Regions from separate parts of the Homo sapiens genome. Here region 1 is linked to region 2. The links are contacts of gene promoters, found by promoter capture Hi-C in blood cells and fetal thymus (Javierre and others, 2016). All regions are on one chromosome and are shown on one strand. The core of a region is centred on a gene start or on the middle of the fragment in contact, and the rest is flanking DNA. Distances in the headings are between cores, read along the strand shown.

Region 1 (7,088 bases), core at 504-3,003, 130 kb before region 2:
TTGGTCAGCCCACGACGATGAACACTTTCTTTTTTCTTTTTCTTTTCTTTTCTTTCTTTTTTTTTTTTTGGAGATGGAGTCTCCCTCTGTCACCAAGCTGGAGTGTAGTGTGGCATGATCTTGGCTCCCTGCAACCTCTGCCTCCTGCGTTCAAGCGATTCTCGTGCCTCAGCCTCCCGAGTAGCTGGGATTACAGGCACACGCCACCATACCCAGCTAATTTTTGTATTTTTTAGTAGAGACGGGGTTTCACCATGTTGGCCAGGCTGGTCTTGAACTCCTGACCTCGTGATCTGCCCACTGCGGCCTCCCAAAGTGCTGGGATTATAGTCGTGAGTCACTGCGCTCGGCCGATGGTGAACACTTTCCAAAAGCCTTTAGGAAGAAGGTCTAATCAGGAGGAAAGCCATGAAGAAATGCTGCGAGCTAAGACCCCAAAGGGTAATTGAGCTAAAACTTCAGCCTTCACAACCTGCACAATCTAAATGAAGTGTGTGGTTTATTTCCAAGCCTCTGGGCTTGGGCTCCAGGAATGGTTCAGCTAAAGAGCAAGAAAGGTTAATTATCAGATCACACCACTGCAATTATCTCGGAAAATTTCAGGTCCTGTGGCCCTGTCATGCCAATCCTGACCAGCAAATTTGAGAAGTTCTGACACTACTCTGTTCATTAAGAGATGTATTTATTTATTTATTTTTTACCAGAGAACCCACTCTCAGGAGCTGTCACAGCCATAGCATCCTGACCACCAAGTGAAACTTTGTACTTGGTATTTCTTTTTTTTCTTTTTTGAGACGGAGTCTCGCTCTGTCGGAGTGCAGTGGCGAGATCTGGGCTCACTGCAAGCTCCGCCTCCCAGATTCACGCCATTCTCCTGTCTCGGACTCCGGAGTAGCTGGGACTACAGGCACCCGCCACCACGCCCGGAATAATTTTTTTTGTCCATGTTAGCCAGGATGTTCTTGATCTCCTGACCTCGTGATCTGCCCGCGTCGGCCTCCCAAAGTGCTGGGATTACAGGCGTGAGCCACCGCGCCCTGCCTATACTTGGTATTTCTACAGAAACATAAATGACAGCAAATATTCTACTCAGTAATTCTGCCTTCTGATGCCTTGACCCCATCCTAGTCTTTCCCACTGCTATCCAGTCACTGTTTTCTCCATCTACTGTAGATCCCAGTGCTTTTCATGACTGTTAATTACAATGAACACATCGGGCAAAAACTCCATTACCCAAAATTTTTATCTTGGACCCATGCACGCTAATACAAACTGCCCTCCCACTTCTCAGGCCCACTCCAGTGTTGGCTTCCCTTTTACCAACTCCTCCTACTGTGCAATCCTAAGTGGTAAATAAGTCAACTGATCCCTCCACATCCTCAACTAAAATCTAGAATTCTCAAGAAGAAACCACCTCCTTACCTGCCATTTCAAAATTATTTTTTATGATTACCAACTTTAAGCACACATTTTCATAATATAGTGAAACTCTTAAGAATTCTCCAATTATAGTCACCTCTTAGTTACATCTACTCAAGAAGTTCAGCAAAGGTTGAATAATTCCAAGTGGGTTTATTTGGCCCTGAAATAAATCAAAAGATGTATTTGTGTTACTGATTTAACTTCCCGGATTTTCTTAGAACAATCGGAATCCAGTTTGCATTAACTGGTCAGAAATCAATGCTGTGGACCTCATCAAGTCAGAAGAGTAGAAATATTAAAACTTACATTTTTCTGCAGTTAATCTATAAGGTGAACAATAAGCTAGTAAACATGTGTAACTAGGGTAGACTAACTAGGGTAACTAGACTAACTAGGGTAGACCACTAGCTTTCCTGGTCTCCAGTTTACAGACTTCTAATGTGGTGGGACTTTTCAGCATACAAAATTGCATGAGCCAATTTCTTATAATACATCTCTTCATATATATATGTCTACATCCTACTGCTCTGTTTCTTTAGAGAATTCTGACTAATATGATGAGTCTATTCCAAGAAATAACATGACTCAGTTTAGGACATGATTGGGCTGTGTCCTGACTAAATTAGCTAGTTAATCTAACATGATAACTTTAAATCATTGCTTCCACCACTCTTACTAAAAAGTAAATTCTAGAAATAACTTCAGAGAAAGAGAAAATCATATTTTTATGCTGTACTAAAACAAAGCAAAAGTTTGTAATAAAGTCATATTATATATTATACCATTTGAATTATAGTTACTCCAAAACAAACACAGAACTTCAAGTTACAATCTGATTACTACACACTTCTTTCTAACTCTCTGTTAAGTGATAAATTTGGAGTAAATTGAGGCAGCATATACTATATACACATTAGTACATCTCTTTTAAAGTAATTATATCAGAAATCATGTCTTCATTGCTGCTCTGGACTATTTGATAATTATAAACTTCTGCACTCAGGGAGAGGGAGAAATAGCACAGAGGATTTCCAGTTCTGACTTCATAATTTATATTACAGTTGTTAAATATTAACAGCTGTATAGGAGGACATCCATTTGGTTTGACCTCCTGCACTAGGCTTCAACAGATCAAATCAAAATGGAGTAACTAATGCTAAAGTTCCACATTACCAAACTGAAACTAAGTTGTTTATTTAACCTTCCAAGAAATCAGGAGAGAAATGAAAGCCCAGACTCCAAACAGGCCAGTTTTAGCCTGCATAATAAAGAAGTTCCCACTACTTTAGTCCTTATAAAGAGAGTAACCTGAACTAATCTACCGTTAACTAATCCACTTTTTGTATTATGCTATTTCCTCATTCCTGCTCAAGGTACCTTATAAAAACTGACTATTCTGCAATGCCGCATGTAGCATCTCTCTATTTTTAGATAAGATGCTGTCATATTCATGAATTCCTAATATAAGCTAATTACATCTTTAAATTTGTTGTAATTTATCTTTTGACACAGCTAAAGCCTTTTGACCTATTTCTTAAGGTCCTGAAAATTTTTTGTTTTACTGCTTTCAAACATAACTAAAGTAAAACCTGGAACTCACAGGGAAATCATACTTAATTCTGGAAGATCCTAAAATTACTATGCCTTTAACATAGACAATTAACAAATAAATTCAGATTAATAACCTAAACCTAGTTATGCCTAAGAACAACTCTCTCCCGCCACACTCACCCTCCACAAAAAAAAAAAAAAAATCACAATATAAAACAGTTCATATTCTTCTCAAGCCCCAAGCAGAGACATAGGTTCTGAATTATTTTAGCAAAATTCTACCATTCTGAAAACAATCACAAGAATTCTAGGTGCCTAACTTCCTACCAATAAGTAAGAATGAGACATTATGCTATGCCAGAGGGGAACTGTGAATAGCCCAGGGAGAAGGCAACATTTATTGAGGTAACTCACAAATTAAATAGCTTTCACATCATTCAGTTACATGATATGTAAATTTTATGCACTTAAAAGATTTGGTTACCATCTAAGAAGACAAACATTTCATCCCTTGAATTGTGGTTTCAGTCAAAGTAAAGCAGAGCAAGCACAGATGCATTTTTACACATGTGTGGGGCAAGAAGATGGTGAGCCTTTGAGTACAAAGCACACCATATCTGTGAGGTATGAGATTGAAGTAGGGTGACTGAGGCCAGTTATTAATGCAAAGCACCTTGTAACCGGGAGTTTTACTATAAAAATCCACTTCAGCATCTAGGCTCAAGAAAACAAAACACATATGCTTAGAACCAATGTAAGATAGGCTTTTACAGTTTTGTTTGTTTGTTTGTCTTTTGGTTTTATTGAGACAGAGTCTTGCTCTGTTGCCCAGGCTGGAGGCCAGTGGCACGATCTCAGCTCTGCAACCTCTGCCTCCTAGGTTCAAGCAATTCTCGTGCCTCAGCCACCAGCATAGCTGAGATTACAGGCATATGCCCCCACACCTGGGTAATTTTTGTATTCTTAGTAGAAACGGGATTTTCCCATGTTGGCCAGGCTGGTGTCAAACTCCTAGTCTCGTTATCTGCCCACCTCAGCCTCCCAAAGCGCTGGGATTACAGGTGTGGACCACCACACCTGGCCTATAGAATTGTATATTAAACCTTGAATTAAAATGTAGATAATATATCAACTAGACCCAACTGAAATTGTAGTAGTAAAGTGTTCTACAAAACTAACAAGTAAACCAAGGAGACAAAAGCAACAAAAATGAGTCTTAAAGTCAGTTATTCTCATTTGATTGCTTTATTACTGCTCAAAAACCTTTTCTAACAACCCAGACCTCCCTCACAAATGGGAGTTTTCCTTTCTTCTTCATAAATGAGAAAACTAAGCCCATAAAGATAAAGTGTTTACTTAATGCTGTACAGCTCAGTAACTAGCTGAATTGAAATTATTCATGATTCATGTCCATTGCATTCATGTTCCTATTTCATTGAATAAAAAACAAACAAAAAACCCCACATTCTCCCAATGTGCCAAATTTCAGTGAAAGTTGTTAGAGGTTATCTTTAAGGTATCTTTCTTACGTAAGATAGAAATATCTTGAATTTCAATTTAGTCTCATGATCAATTAGTTTTTAACTAGGATAGGCAAAACTTTTTTAAAAGCAGTTTTTAACAACAAATTTTGGGAAATGAAAAGCACAGTTGTTACTACTGATTAACTAAAGTGCTTTGGCTTTTAAATTTAGCACTGTTCAAGGCAGTGCTATAGAGTGTGTGTACAGGTACACATATGTGTACATACATATATCCACATATATGTACACATGTATAAATGTATAAGTACATAAATACTCACTTAACATAAAGCTTATTTTGTTTTTCAAGGAATATTGATCAACTAGACCCAACTGAAATTGTAGTAGTAAAGTGTTCTACAAAACTAACAAGTAAACCAAGGAGACAAAAGAAACAAAAATGAGTCTTAAAGTCAGTTATTCTCATTTGATTGCTTTATCACTGCTCAAAAACTTTTCCCAACAACCCAGACCTCCCTTGAATATTAATCTAGTTGAATAATATATTTACATGATATGTAAATTTTATGCACTTAAAAGATTTGGTTACCATCTAATTACTACCATTTGATTAATATTCAAGGAATCTTAACCAAAGGCATAGAGCATGAAAGGCACTGTACAGGCACTAAAAAATGGAGGAGTCAGGCAGTTAATAAAATTAAATATATTCCAGCACATTATATTAATTAAATTTATTATAAATATATTATGGATAACACATATATAACAATACAAATGTATTTGTACATATACAAATACATTAAGCACTATGAATACAAATAATGGTACAATAAAAAGGATATGGAGTCATTGATTTAGTTGGAGTAGTGGTGGCATTGTCAGGAAAGTCAGAGCGGAGAGTTGAAAAAAGTCTAGAATCAGCCAGGCCATAGGGATGTATGAGGGGCGTGGTAGGGCATTATAGACAGAGGGAAGCTCACTAGTAGAAGTCCTAAGCTGCAGGAAACTGGGCTTATTCGGGAAATGAAAATTTATGAAATTACAGAGCCAAAGATGGACAGACCCTTAGAGATGAGGATGGAAAGGTGCACAAGGGCCAGTTCACAAATGTTTAAAGTCGCTCTACCTGCACTTTAAGACCTCAAAGGCCAGAGCTTGGTTTGTCTTATCCAAGACAAGCCACTTAATCTGTGTTTGTTAATTCAACAATGAGTGTACAGTATTATTTTGCTCTTTTCAGTCAGTAAGAATAGTTCCCTTACAGATCTGAAGGCTGCTTCATGTACAGTGAGACCCAGGTATTTTACACTTGTCTATCCAACTGCAGCAATCCACTCATTTTCCTTTGTATGTGTTTTTCATTTCCTTGTGCTTGTTCATTGCTCAAAACCCTTCTATTGTAAACATCAGGGTGGCAATAAGAGAAAGGTTTGCTCTTAGGAAAAGTTCAAGAAAGAAAGGAGCCCCCAAACCGCCTGACACTTCTAAGTGTCACTGGTACTAACCATGTATCTCAGTGTCATAAGCGGGAAGAAACAACGACTGCCTGTTCCTGCAACTGGCAAGTGGCCATGCCAAGACTTCCAGAAATAACAGTGAATGAATGAAACCACATGGGAACCAGAGAGTCAGCTTGGAGAGGCAGGGACTTTGTCAAATATTTAAAATAATAAACGCTAACTTTCACTGAGTACTTTCTGTAGTGCCAGGCACTGCTCTAAGAACTTTACATTAACACACATTAATTACTGCTCAAAAACCTTTCCTAACAACCCAGACCTCCCTCACAAATAGGAGTTTTCCTTTCTTCTTTATAAATGAGAAAACTAAGCCCATAAAGATAAAATGTTTACTTAATGCTGTACAGCTCAGTAACTAGCTGAATTGAAATTATTCATGATTCATGTCCGTTGCATTTATGTTCCTATTTCGTTGAAAAACAAACAAAAAATCTCACATTCTCCCAATGTGCCAAATTTCAGTGTAATACTCTGTAGCTCATTTAATACTTACACAATTTCAGAAATGAGGCAATGGAAAGAACATATATGAAGAAAGTGGCTGACAGTCCACAGATGTGAAGCAGTAGAGGCCGAATTTAAAGTCGGGGAGCCTGACTGGAGCTAATGGTCTTAGGAACCGCGCTACATACCGCCACTATCTTTCCTAAGCTGGTATTGTAGAGGGCCTAGCATAGACGTGGGCTCCTGGCGGACTTCATTGAATACTTACTGATAAATGACAGCTTGCAGGCTGTATTAACCGTCCCTTCTAATAGCCCCACTATGCTGGCACATGCTCCTGAGCCCAGACTCTGCCCAGGATTCAGGGCCGCTCTCTACCTGTAAAGCAGTGTAGCTAAGGGGAAGCTGAGCCCCGCAAGGCGTTTTCAGGCAGGACACCCCTTGTCATTCGAACGGTTCTGGTGTGAGCCAGGGTACAGCTGGGCCGCCTGGGGCCCCTTGCCGAGTTTCCGTTCCACTTCAGGTGTCGCTTCCCGCGGCCCATTGGGCCCTTGCCCCGCCCTCTGACGCAAACACAATTATGGGGCGGAGCATCGTCCCCACTAGCCAGGCACACCCCAGTCCCATAGGGAGGCGACTGAGAAAGCCGCCCCCTTACCCGTGG
Region 2 (7,599 bases), core at 4,119-6,618:
TATATTTGAAATGCAGTAGATTGAGAGGAAAGGGAAGGAATGCTAAGCTCTTCTTCATCATCACCAGAGTTCTTCAAGGTAATATGAGAATCTCAAGGAGATCCCCAAAGATCACAGTTTAAGGTTGCAGCACTGGCAAACAGCAAAATTAGATTCCAGGTTATGTCTATTGCATAAAAGGTTTTTGTTCCCTTCTATGACTGCATTGCTTCCAGAATGAAGGTGATACCAGTTACACTGAAAAAATAAATGGTATGACTGGGAGAAAGGTCGCACGTGATTTTAAAATATAGTTATTTTTTGGTAGTTAATTCCTAAACTACTCTGCCTCAGGTACAAGATATGTTATGGTCGATTGAGGCAATGTATATTCTTTGCATGCCAAAGGAGGGGGTTATCAGAAAATGTTAAGGTGTAAATAAGGAAAAAGAAACTGAAGAATACTGAACCAGAGTATGGGGGAGAGAAGCTTTTCATTTTTATGTTATACAGCATAAAGCCCTTACTCCAGAGCCTAGAACTAAATTGATATTTGTGTGTTCTCTGGGGAACTTACTACCACCCATAATATTATTTCTAGGAAATGATCATCTCCTAATTTCAAATGACTCTAACTTGACTAACTTAGTAACAGATGTTTAGCATACATTCTCTTTTTCTAAGTGAAGAATCGCCTGGAATTTCTTGAAACACCCTTATACATGCATAAAACTGTAGGTGGTATTTGTGTAAGTCTAAAATAGAGCCTACATGGCTTCATGGTACCTTGCTTAAAAGAAATCTGTTCCATTTGGAAGAAGGAGAGAATAATTATTGTCATTCATAACAAATTTTCCTTTTGTGTAGGTTTTGGAGATATGTTGATAACTAGTGGATAGTAATCAGGAAAACTCCATAAATGTTGAAGTGAAATATATTAATTTAATTGAATGTACTGGACTCTTTTACTTCTGCATTTGACTCATGGATTAAGATTTTATTTATTTGGTTTCCTTTGCTTGTTTTTAAGTCCTTGAGTTGTCTATTTTTCAGAGCCTTAGATCCCTTAATTGATTGAATTTTCACTGCAAATAGATAAAATTCCTGCTAGACAACACTGCAGGTCTTAGAGGTCTATTTATATGCTTATTTAAATCTCTGGCATGAGTAGGTATTTAAAGCATGCTTTGGTTTGTAAATACTAGTTTCTTTATGGAATGTAACTGTGCCTCTTACCACTAGAATGAATTGATACCATCTATCTTCCTCTTCATCTTTAGATATATTATTTACCCAACTTTTAACTTTTCCAGTGTAAAGTAATAATATCTCACTACAATAAGAAAATTAATAAACAAAGTATAAAGGGACTACTTTTGAAAAAATGTTTTAGAAACTCAGTCCTTTTGATTAGTAACTAGCCTTAGTACCAGAAAAACTTCAAAAGTGTTCTCTAAACATTGAATTTTCATCAGTGATGCTGCAAGCCTTAGTTCTCATCTTTCATGCTTACCATTGCAATAACTTCAAAAGGATAAAAAGAAAGAATGGTAATCTCTCAAAGCAACCTTGTGCTCAGGCCAGTAATCACGTATTTAGCTATCATGCATTCACAACTAGATAATTGCCTCATTAAACTGTTTTAATAAATATAATAATTAACATTTTTTTTTAACAAAAAAGCAAACATTCAAACCATTCAGAAATGAAATCCAGAGCCCAAGGGATTTCTAGAAGAAAATGAAAAAGAGTTAGATAGCGTCAAATATAGACATCTTCAAAGGGAAAGAGATCATTTAAACTTGCTTTTTACTTACTGAAATATGTTCTGCATATTTTATTGTTTTCATTATCTTGGTTATTATAATCCAGCCAGTGAATGTTCAAAGAACATAAAATCCTACAAATAAGTAAACTGAATATAAGTGAATTTACAAAAAGACAACAATTAAGATCAAAAGTTTGACATGCAAGCTTTGATTATGTAAAGCAATTATATTTCCAGTGGTGTTCCAGTATTATGATTTAACAGAAGAAGAAAAATTTAAAAGTCTTAAGCTTTACAACATTTTATTTTCATGTTGAATTTTCAGAGTATAAGTAACTTAGAAACCCTATCTGAATCTGCATGGTATTGTCAAAGTGTTCCAGTATTATATGATTTATCTGGAGAAGAAAAATTTAAAAATTTTAAGCTTCGTGACTTTTTATTTTCATGTTGAATTTTCAGAGTATAAGTAACTTGGAAACTTTATCTAAATCTGCATAGTATTGTCAAACTTTTGGGTGATAAACCCTTTGCAGAATTAGACTGTATGCATTCTGGGTCAGTGTAGGAAGTTATAATGGATACGAATATTTGAACAAAAATTAGATATATTACCAGAGATAATGTGGTCAGCAATAGGTGGTTATTTGAGGGAGTACTGAAAACTACACCAGAGAGAACTCAAAGAGTGAGTGGTGAGTCGGAGGAGTGGTGGGTTGTGAAGCCGTATCTTGGAACCAGAAGAGACCAAAAATTAGATTTCATTTGTGATTTAGATTTGTATTTAAATGAGGAAATAACCTTATACCAGCAGCTTTCTAAAGCTTTCGCCTGAATAAAATAGAAACAGCAATTAAAAATTAAAAACATAATTCTTTCTATAAAATTATGTATAAGGAAAGTAATTTATCTTGGTAATACATGTAAGAAATAGTTTTATAAGCTATATTGGCTGGCAAAAAAAGGCAAATGTTTTACAATATGATGGTAAAAAGAAAAAAAGAGAAATGAATGGGAGTCATTAACTATTCTCAGTGAACATTTCTCCCTTAAATGCTGGAGTTTAAAAGTTATCCTTTTAGATGATTAGGGTATTATCTAGATCAGTGCTTCTTAAATTTATAGTGCATAGAGGAAGCACCTGGGCATCTTGTTCAAGTGCAGGTCCTGATGCATCTGGGGTGGGATCTGAGATTCTTTGCTTTGAGCGAGCTTCTAGGTGGTGCAGATGCTTGCACTTTGCACCACACTTTGAGTATGACCTAGATCAACCTTTACGGAACCTACATCTCATCAATCTCTCAAAGCATATGGACTAAGAAATACATGCTTTTTCAAGAAGAACATATGTTTAGAGGGTTTCTGAAACAATAAGAAAAACTGATAAGGTTTAAAATACAGAGAACTGTAGTTCCAATTTTGGCAGTACATTTTAACTATCAGCTTGTTATGTAAAATAGGTGAGTAGGGCAGATTAAAAAGGATCTATTTCTAAATATTAACGTTAAGTGTGGGGCTTAATCAGAAAGGCCTAATGAAGATCTTGGGGAAAGGGTGTGTGTGTGGAGGGGTTGGTGTTGAAGTCAGAATGATCAAAGATGGGAACAGTAAGCAAAGGAAGGGTGACAAGTTAAAAGCACTGTCCAGTGGATAGAGGAGAATAGGGAAGAGATGACATTAGGCAACAGGCAAGGTGGACTAAGCTGGTTAGATTTGCAGATGAAAATGGGAGTTGAGAGTAAGTGACAACTTAGTAAGTTTAAAAACCTAGCACTCTATAGATATTACTTCCATCTTCTACCAATAATAGGAGACTGGTAAGTTAAAATAATTCCTCTGAAATCCTGGAGAAATAATCCTAATATACATACTTGTATATGTATATGTATATGTATATATGCATATATATATACATATATATCTATGTATTAAATTCTGAGTTTCAGTGAAGTCATCAGGGAATAATTTTTAGTTCATATATTTTCCAAATATCATTAGAAGAGACTCAGTAAATAGGGCATTAATGTAAACAATCAGATTTAGCATTCTGAAACCCCAGAAAACAATAAAACATGAGAAGGAATTTAAGCTTTATAAAAATTTCATGATTACCAAAAGTGCATAACCTGAATCTAACCATGACACAAACTGAAATTAGGCCACAGTTTACAAAATAATTGGCTTATGCACTTAAAAAATGCCAATGTCGGCTGGGCAAGGTGGCTCACACCTATAATCCCAGCACTTTGGGAGGCCAAAGCGGGTGGATCACGAGGTCAGAAGATCGAGACCATCCTGGCTAACACAGTGAAACCCCATCTCTACTAAAAATACAAAAAAATTAGCCGGGTATGGTGGCACATGCCTGTAATCCCAGCTACTCGGGAGGCTGAGGCAGGAGAATCGCTTGAACCTGGGAGGCAGAGGTTGTGGTGAGCCAAGATTGCGCCACTGCACTCCAGCCTGGGTGACAGAGTGAGACTCTATCTCAAAAAATAGAACAAAAAATAAAACAAAAACAAAAATGCCAATGTCATGAGACTCAGGGAAATGCACATGCATGTGCACATGTTCATGCACACACATATACACACACACACACCCCTTAGGAACAGTTCCAGGTGAAAAGAAACAAATGAGATGTGACAAAATGGACATACTTCATGATCTTGGATTTTCTATTGTCAGAAAGGACATCATTATGCAAATCAGTGCAAACCGAATAAAGTCTGTAGATTAGATAATAGCATTGAATCAGTGTTTAGTGCCTGACTTTGACAATAGTACTGTGATGTGTAAAAAAATTCCTTGTTTTTAGGAAATGCACACTAATATAATTAGGGGAAAAGGCATCATGTCTGCAACCTACTCTCAACTCTTATGCTGTTTGTTTTAATCACTTATGTGTGTGCCTGTGTATACACATCTTTTTCATGTATTTATAGAAAATACATGTGTTTATATATCAACAAATAAAAACTCCATAAGTTTTTATGGCTGCATTGAAAATGGTAGGAAATTAGGTAAATATTAGAGGGAAAACTAAGAACAGGATATAGGTCAAGCATTTTGATACAGGTATTATTTGACTTCTGTTCTTCTATCACCAATCTCCATATACCAAAGAAGAAAAGGTTTTCAATATAATTGTAAGTTGGAAAGTAATAACAAGAACATAGTATCTTAGAAATAATGGCAACTGGTACCTATTAACTCATCAAATCATTTCATGTGTCTATGTTCACACTGAGAAGGCAACATTCTTAATATCATCTAGCTCACTATTATGCAATGAACCAGTCTGGAACTTTATCCAGGATAAATCATGTGATATTTATGTTTGCATATTTTTTAGTTCAAGTGAAAATAAGCCAAAAATCTAAATTGAACGTAAAAGCAAGGGGAAACTAGGTTTTAAAGAAATGATGAATAGGATGTGATAACACTTCAATCTTTGAGAAAGGGGATATGAGATCACTGAAGAGGGGCTGCCTAACAGAAATGCAGGGTTCTAAATTCTAATTTTTGAAGAACATTGGTCCTAAGCTATCCTTCTATGAATAAAATATACTCTTTGGGGGTAAAAACTGTGTAAATGGGATAGGCTATATTGTAATTAACAAGCAAGAGGGAGAATAACAAATCACTCATGCTCTCAAAGCCCATACTTACAAAGAGAAAACAGGCACCGATCATTGCTGCTTTGACTGTTACATCTAGATCTGCAGGAACATGAATTCCGAAATTGTCAGCATTTGTGAAGACATCATTTACAAATCCTGACCAGTACTTTGAAATCTTCCCAATTGTAAGCTTTTCATTAATGGTTTTCACCTTTAGAAAGAAAATAAGGAGTATTAAATTTGACAGTGAAAAAAGTTGGTTTTATACTTCTGAGGGTGTTTACTTCATGAGAGATTTGAATTATTTTATTTGTCATCTTCAAAATGACAATTCCATGTTATTCATTCCATCATATAAGCATAGGTTTGTAAATTTAGCTTTTCAGTTTACTTTTTAGAAACTTTGCTTTTTTGACAGTTTTCTAGTCCATCATAATTCTTTTTCTTTTTTGTATGCAGATGGAGAATATCAGGATAAATAATTAAGGCTCAGCCACCACAAGATGGCAGCAGGTACATAGTTCAATTGTATCATCTAAGCATGAAGGCGATTTCTTTACTTGAGGTCCAGATTTTAAACCTGAATTCTCCATCTTAAAAATGTAAAAGAAGATATGTTTGAAAAAATATTTCAGAAGGAATTAAATTAATTTCTAGGCATAATTTGTAAACTTTCAAATTTCAGTTGCTAAAATTTTATAATTATTAAAACATTTAAATATTATTGGCCATTGTTAAATCACATTTTTATATTATACTCAGACATTTATTAGGTCAATACTTTCTAACAAATCCTAAATCCTATTTTTACATTAAAAAAATCCTCCTGGTTAATGTACCATATAGGAAGTTAAGACCAACTAGACATCAATCAGTCCTTCTCAGCTAGAAGGAGTTCACAAATCAACTTTATCAGCTATTTGTTTGTTTATTCTGCTTCCCATCCTGATGCTGAAAGTAATTCAAGAGAAACTATCACTTTTTTCAGGGTAGTAAAAGATAGAGAATAGAGAGGGTTACTTAGGACATTTCTATAGCATGAATGCTAAAACTCTTATGTTTAAAGTCCTCCTCAATCATATTACTCGTAGGAAAGTCATGCCAAATCCTTTGGGGATAGGGTGAAGTTGGAACAGCTCAGTTTGCAAAATTTGCATTGTATTCTACGTGCATAGTGTTTCCTGAAGTCCTGAGAACTAAATGCCCTTGCTGAGATATTTATGTATGAATGGATGAAAAATAAATATACACTTTCAATTAGGCTGTCTCCTCTACCTAAGTTGTATGTCCAGGACAACCTGTTAAGATAGTTTATATTGCTACAGATCAAATTTACAACTTTCTATTTTTTAAATATTCAATTTATACAAATACGAGAATAAGGTTTTTTTTTGTTTTTTTTTTTTGTTTTTTTTACAAAACTAACTTAGCAAGTCTTAGAAACACAGCTTTTGAGTTAATGCTGTTTTAATGTAACGTGCTGCTGAAATGAGATCTAAACTGGGATATGTGATCTCAAGGCCCATAGGAAAGAAGATACATAATTTAGGTGATTCTAAACTGTATATATTGGCTTTATTGCCATGTGTCCTGTGATTCTACATAAATAAAACATACTGAAACAAGAATGAAGTGCTAATTTTCAAAATCAGGAAATATTGGTTATCTTAAAAAGGCAAAGCTATGTGTCCAAAAATTTTTGATGTTCAAAGTCTTGCACACATTAAAATAGCAACACATTTACTATTCTAATCAAAGAGATATAGTAGCTTTGTCCATAGAACACATAGAATTATATTTAGCTAAACATGCTTTTATTATAGTAAAATTTATTAATATTACTTTGGATAATACTTACACTGGTCTATGACAGATATGATGGCCAAGGTGATAAATTTTGTAATATTATTTTTAAAAAATCCTTGGACTTTATATCTCTGGATTTACATATTCCTATTCTTAGCATGTACAATATGGGCTGATTACATTATATTACAAATATGTCATTTTCTGAACTTATTTTAAATGAAATTAATTTGAACATAAAAAAATTGAATTATGTTGCAAAAAAAAATCAGGACCTAAATGAAAACTTCTTTCATTTTGTCAATTGTACCTCAAAATCCACATCGCCAAAACAGCCACATGTCACACAAGGACCAACAATTTTCAAAATATCTTCTTTGTTTGCATTTTGGATTGTGAATTTAGGCAGAAAGGGGTCCCACT

The links. The method cuts DNA at HindIII sites, captures the fragments that hold promoters and counts their contacts. A CHiCAGO score of 5 or more calls a contact.
Region 1: a contact is called between a fragment that was not itself captured here and the fragment with the promoter of PLSCR5-AS1 in region 2, in 1 of 17 cell types (monocytes). The highest score is 5.8, in monocytes.

The regions. Positions count from the first base shown.
Region 1 is chr3:146,462,413-146,469,500 of GRCh38, forward strand. PLSCR2 (phospholipid scramblase 2) reads right to left here. Exons shown (of 8, transcript NM_001395437.1): 1 at 7,083-7,088. Among named protein-coding and RNA genes, the nearest start is that of PLSCR2, 3.6 kb to the right of the region's middle. The HindIII fragment of the contact is 6,066 bases long and covers 1-4,786 here.
Region 2 is chr3:146,584,234-146,591,832 of GRCh38, forward strand. PLSCR5-AS1 (PLSCR5 antisense RNA 1) reads left to right here and starts at 5,369. Exons shown (of 2, transcript NR_046698.1): 1 at 5,369-5,555; 2 at 5,830-6,092. PLSCR5 (phospholipid scramblase family member 5) reads right to left here. Exons shown (of 8, transcript NM_001085420.2): 5 at 7,487-7,599; 6 at 5,420-5,581; 7 at 1,797-1,879; 8 at 1,604-1,709. The coding sequence ends at 1,841. The HindIII fragment of the contact is 1,724 bases long and covers 3,835-5,558 here.